Regions from separate parts of the Homo sapiens genome. Here region 2 is linked to region 1. Evidence: promoter capture Hi-C in human tissues and cell types (Jung and others, 2019). All regions are on one chromosome and are shown on one strand. Each heading gives the region's core, a stretch centred on a gene start or on the middle of the fragment in contact. The rest is flanking DNA. Distances are from core to core; before and after follow the strand shown.

What was found. The method cuts DNA at HindIII sites, captures the fragments that hold promoters and counts their contacts. A contact is called where the count stands out against the background at its distance.
Region 2: a fragment that was not itself captured here is called in contact with the fragment with the promoter of ZNF366 in region 1 in 2 of the 25 tissues and cell types used here (IMR-90 fibroblasts and aorta).

The regions. Positions count from the first base shown.
Region 1 is chr5:72,505,846-72,508,738 of GRCh38, forward strand. It overlaps ZNF366 (zinc finger protein 366), which reads right to left and starts at 1,565. Exons shown (of 5, transcript NM_152625.3): 1 at 1,406-1,565. The HindIII fragment of the contact is 10,357 bases long and covers 1-2,893 here.
Region 2 is chr5:72,742,040-72,744,892 of GRCh38, forward strand. The region is part of intron 5 of TNPO1-DT (TNPO1 divergent transcript); the gene reads right to left. Among named protein-coding and RNA genes, the nearest start is that of TNPO1-DT, 73 kb to the right of the region's middle. The HindIII fragment of the contact is 3,416 bases long and covers 1-2,853 here.

The DNA.
Region 1 (2,893 bases), core at 315-2,814:
TTTCAATTGTTATTAGAATAATTTTGCATCCGCAAGCTGGCAAACGCTATTCACGTCTCTTTACATTGCTCGTTTTATGATGCTCCTAAAGAAAATCCTTGAAAAAAGGAGAAGAAAAAAGAGGTCTGACTAATGGAACAAAAGCTACATCACAGTCTAGTTCTGTCATGTTTTCTCATCCTTAGTAAGATGATGGTTCAATTTTGAATAAAGATTAATTACTTGAATGTGGTTAAAGCATAGTCTAGCCAAATTAATTTTTAAAATGAGAGTCCAGCTATTTTTATCTTATTCTTCACATCCCAGGTGATTTCAATCAGTAAATTTCATAGCAGTGAATATTTTTAAAAAGTATGCTTGGCCATTGGCTTTTACCCATTCGGCATCTCTCTGAATTAAAGTATTAATATTGGGAAACATAACGAGTCTCTCGGAGTGACCTTGCTGACCTATTTTTGACAACATGATTTCGGCTCCCTCATGGCTTGCGATGATAGGTGCTGGTAACATTATCCTTTATGACTAATCTAATTGAAGCAAGTTAGACTTTTAAAAACTAGTTGTGTATGTTAGCTTGACTAGCTTGCTACGCCCTATTTGGTGCTTGGAAAACCAGGCACTGGGTGAATGCTTTTCAATTGCGTCTGTAACTTAGTTTTTCCCTCCTACTGACATAAATGATCCATCTTAATCCTCCCATTCTAGCTGCATATTGTTTTCCAAAACTAAAGCTATATGCCCCAAAACCTTTGCCTTCTATCATGTGGCAGATGACATCTTCCACTGACAGTGAATAATAAATTTACACTCAACCCGCATGGGGAACCTGAACACATAAGCTCCCCACATGCAGAACTATTTCCAAGTGACATTCCCTTCTCTCTTTCCCTTCTACTTCAGTGATGCAGAATAACCATCATATAACAATTAACAATCCTCCTTTAGGGGGATGCTGAATGGAAAGAAAAGAACAGGAGAAGGGCACCTCAATCCAGGTAACGTATTAACAAAAACCCCAGAGCAAACCACAGTCCTTAACAGACACCCTGATAAGGCTCCCAGGACACAGTACTGAGGAAGAGCAAATTCTCCAGTGGGACACATCTCACACGCCAGTGGCTCCTGGTTCTCCCAGCCACATGATCTGTGCCAAAATTCAGATTTAACGCAGTGTCCTCTTTAGTCCCAATGTAATTCTATTTCTAGTTTTGCCAGCCTTAGTTCTGCAAAGCATCAGTATTCTCTTACCAAAAAAAAGTATTAGCTGAAATTCTGGGCCATCTATCACTTATACCCTTTGGTTAAGGACTACTCCCAGTAAGGTATTTTCTGTTGAAGATGCCCACAGCAGTATCCACCCAGGAACCTTGAAAAGGAAGCAGAAATGATTGCATGGGTAACTTACCAGCTCCTGAGGTCTGAATGGCTGCAGCAGCCCCACTCCTTTACCTGATCCCTGCTCTCTCTGTCTCTCTCCCTCTCTCTCTCCCTCTTTCTCTTGTGTACAGATTGCAGGGAACTTAAAGAACTCGCAGGGACAGTGTTTCGAATGACTTAAGAAAGAGAACAGGAACAATACTTCGTTCTCTTTTTCTCAGATGAGTACCTTCGGGAAGAAGGAAGGAAGGGAGGGGAGAGGGAGGAAGTCAACAACCCTTTGCTTTCCTGAAAAAAAATAAGGAAACAGAAGATAGACATCTCATTTTCTCTTAAACAAAATGTTGGAAGGGGCAAAAAAAAAAAATCTTTGAAAAAAGGAATTCCTCAAATATGTTCTCTGCCCTGGGAGCTTTAAAGAGATGAAACGCCTTAGTGGCCTGTCCTGTCCAAACAAACGGTGTTCCAGACAGGCAGGCTCTCCTGAGCCTGCAGCCTCTGGTATCTGGTTTGCAGAACTGACACAGCCGAAAGGGAACAAATCATGTCATGTCGACTTAGAGCAAGGGAGAGCTTGGCCTGTTGTGCTAACCAAGGTAAACCTGCAGCCTGTAAGACAGTGTCGGGGCTGGGCAGCCAGGACTCCTGGCTTTTCTTAGGCCCTTTGAAACACCAGCATTGCTGCAATTCCTCGCTGACTCTAGATCCTTAGAGTTTTTCCAGGATCAAATAGCAGATTTATGCCCACCGAACTTTATACAGTGGACCCAATCCAGCTTCCATCACTGATGGATGAAAAAGGAAAAGAAGCAACTAACCACAACTGCTGCCGGCCATGGTTATCTCAGATCTGTTGTTTATATTATTCTATCCTCTACATTCCTAAGGCGTCTTGGATTTAATCACCTCTGGAAAACTGGAAGGAGATTTCTAATTTGTTTTCAAAATACTGTGAAGCAGCATAGGGTTTAGATAAATCAGCCATGGTGTTCGAAAAAAGATAGGGGAGGCAGGAGCAGTTAAAATGGAGGGAGTAACCTTTATCAAGGTAGAAGACTTGGGGCTTCAGCAGGCAGGCATGAGCTTGCTTAGGCTAGTTGCACTTAGGAATAAGCTTGGTTTTAACTTCTCTGATTTGTGTTATGTCTCTTGTGTCCCTTATTCATCTGGTTAGGACCATTTTCACTGTGAACAGGAACCAGCAGTTATGTAGACCTTTGTGGCAGCAAAAGAAAAACCAGCCTTACACTACTTCCTCATTTCACCCAACTGTGAAAAAAATGGGGTGGACAGATACACCTGATTGCAAAGAGTCATGAAAGTGAGTTCAGGGGAAGAATGATTCTGATTCAGTGACCCTGTAAGATTTTGATTGAGTCCTTATTGGCCTATAGGATTATGTTTTTATTCTGACAGATATTTTTCTATCATCTATCTGTCTATCTATCATCTATCTATCTATCTATCTATCTATCATCTATCTATCTAATCTATCCATATATCTATCTATCTCCCT
Region 2 (2,853 bases), core at 273-2,772, 240 kb after region 1:
TCCTGCTGGCTGGACTGATGATGTGAAGGCTGGAAAGGAACAGCTCTCTTAAACTAGGAGTTGAACCTGTGTATTAAGGATGGCAGAGCAGCATGCTGGAGAGAGCCTTGGTCTCTGATGATTGAACTGCCATTCTAGCTCAGGACTGCTTCTGTTTACATAAGATAAATAAGCTTTTAACTTGTTTAAGCCATTGTTATTTTGAGTTTCTATCATTCACAGTCAAACCTAATTCTAATATAGACATCCAGAAGACTATGGACTGCTACACAATGTGGTTAGTTTTATTAAATAAAACATATTAATCTAGAAATGGAGGAAGATGAACGTCTTATATATTTGCCAGACAATGTTGCTAGAAAATGAAATCTTGTGCCACTTAGCAGCCTTTTCTCAGGGAGATGGCAGGAGCTTGCTTGTTTTTAGTCTATTGCACACATGATATGATTATGAAACATTGTGTAAAATGCAAAAATATGTGAGAGATTCAAAGAAGATAGGAAACAGAATTTTCCCCTATGTCAACAACATGAACAATATGTGGATTTTGTCATAATTTGAAGCTAGTGGCACATGGTATCATAGAAGATGCCACACACCAACAAGAAAGAACAATGCTGACTTTTCAAAACAAATCACCCAAACAATAAAGTTCTATCAAATTTACAGATTATTCTTCTCTAACTTAAGAAACCTTGCTTTGGAAATAAATAATATACTATCTTATATAATATATATGCTATAATTTACTATAATTGTTTAAAGACTTGCTATGCACACTGCTAGCTTGTTCTTGTATGAGCTAAATGTGTCAGAAAGTACTGGGGAATAGGAAAGTATCACCAAGTAAAATAACACCTTACATATGGTGCTTATAGTTCATTTATGCATTCACAAAGTATTGAATGCCTTCTTTGCACTAGATGCTGAGAAAACAAAGACTAGTTCCATCCCTTTGAAAGTTTAGGATCTTATGAAACAGCAAACTGAAAAGAAAATAAATTACTGGGAACGGCTGACATGCATTGAGCGTCTGACTCTCATGTAGGCATAATTCTAAGGACTCCATGTTTGTCACCTCAATATAAAACCCAAAGCAACCACATGAGACAGATACTGTTATCACTTCACAGACAGGGAAACTGAGGAATGAAAAAAGCTAAAAAACTTGCAGAGGTCACACAGGTAGTCATTTTAAAAAACTGATTTATGGCCGGGCGCGGTGGCTCACACCTGTAATCCCAACACTTTGGGAGGCCGAGGCAGGCTGATCACCTGAGGTCAGGAGTTTGAGAGCAGCATGTGAACATGGGGAAACCCTGTCTCCACTAAAAATACAAAAATTAGCCGGGCATGGTGGCACAGGCCTGTAATCCCAGCTACTTGGGAGGCTGGGGCAGGAGAATCGCTTGAACCCAGGAGACAGAGGTGGCAGTGAGCCGAGATCACGCCACTGCACTCCAGCCTGGGTGAGAGAGCAACACTCTGTCAAAAAAAAAAAATTAAAAAGGGCGACTTACACTCACATACTGTGGCTTCAGAGCCCGCAACACAATGCAATACTGCATCTCATATGGAAGGAATCATGTAGAAGATGCTGTGGAACATGAGAGAAACATCCAACCCACACCAGAAAGCCATTTTAGAGGGGATGATGCCTGACCTAGGTCTTGAAGGATGAGTAGAAAATTCATGTAAGGCAGAAGCAACAATAACTGCTAATGCATAGGGCAATAAATAGCATAAACTTAAGGTAATTGCAGTTTAAGTGGCTGCAAATAAGCACAGAAGGGAGGTTGGTGAAAATGAGATTAGAGAGGTAGGCAAATATCTGTCAGCTAACTTATCGCTTGAATTTGATCCCAGTACCTATGAGAAGATTTATAGAAGGACTTAAAGGAGGAGAAATGTGATTTCATTTATATTTAGATTATTCTCACAGTAGTAACATGGAGGATGAATTAAAGCAAGGTGAGTCCAGTGTGCATACTATTGGAATTATCCAGGAAAGTCTTGATGAGGGCCTGAACCAAGCCAATGGCAGTGGAGATGAGGAGAAAGAGATAAATTTGAAAGGAATTTTGGAGGCAGAATCCACAGGAGATACATGCAATGTGTGCAATAACAGAGAAACCGCCGATTAGGGATTCCCAGAGCTCTGGCCCAAGAGACTGGATGGATCCAAGACATTAAGCACAGTTTACTTAGCAGTTCCATGTAAAATATCTAGACGGTATGCAAGGAAGTTGTAAATGGTGCCACATAAGAAGTATTACAAGAGCGTTCAAAGTACAGAGAATCTGGCAAAAGTCAAATGACCTTGGGCAGGTGACTAGCACTTGCTTAAAGCTTAGCTAGAAGAGGACAGCTTGAATTTTTAATACTCCAGATCATTTTTTAATCACAGCTCTGTGCTATGCCACACATCATGTGTTAACAGATTTTTCTCACCTCTGACAGCTGATTATTTCAGAAGACATTTGGCAGTATGGGGAATAACTAGCAGACTATGTAAATATACGGGAAGAAAATAGCAACCTATAAATATAAGTCAGGTTGGAAGGTTATTCAGCTGCATCCAAAATAAAGAATCTAGAATATAATTTGGGTTATTTGCAAAAGGAAAGAGTGACCACTGATTGATTCTAGCCTGAGTTTGGAAACAACAGAGATATTCCTAGAAGGAAAGAAAGCACATGTTGCTTTGAAATTGATCTTTAACTGTTTATTATTGAGGATGATGATTCTTCCAAAAAGCCTCTTTTTAAAACTAAAGAGCTTTTGATTGCTCAACAAATGAGAAAACTATTAGATGGAAAATCATCAAGGATATAGAATATTTGAAAAATATAA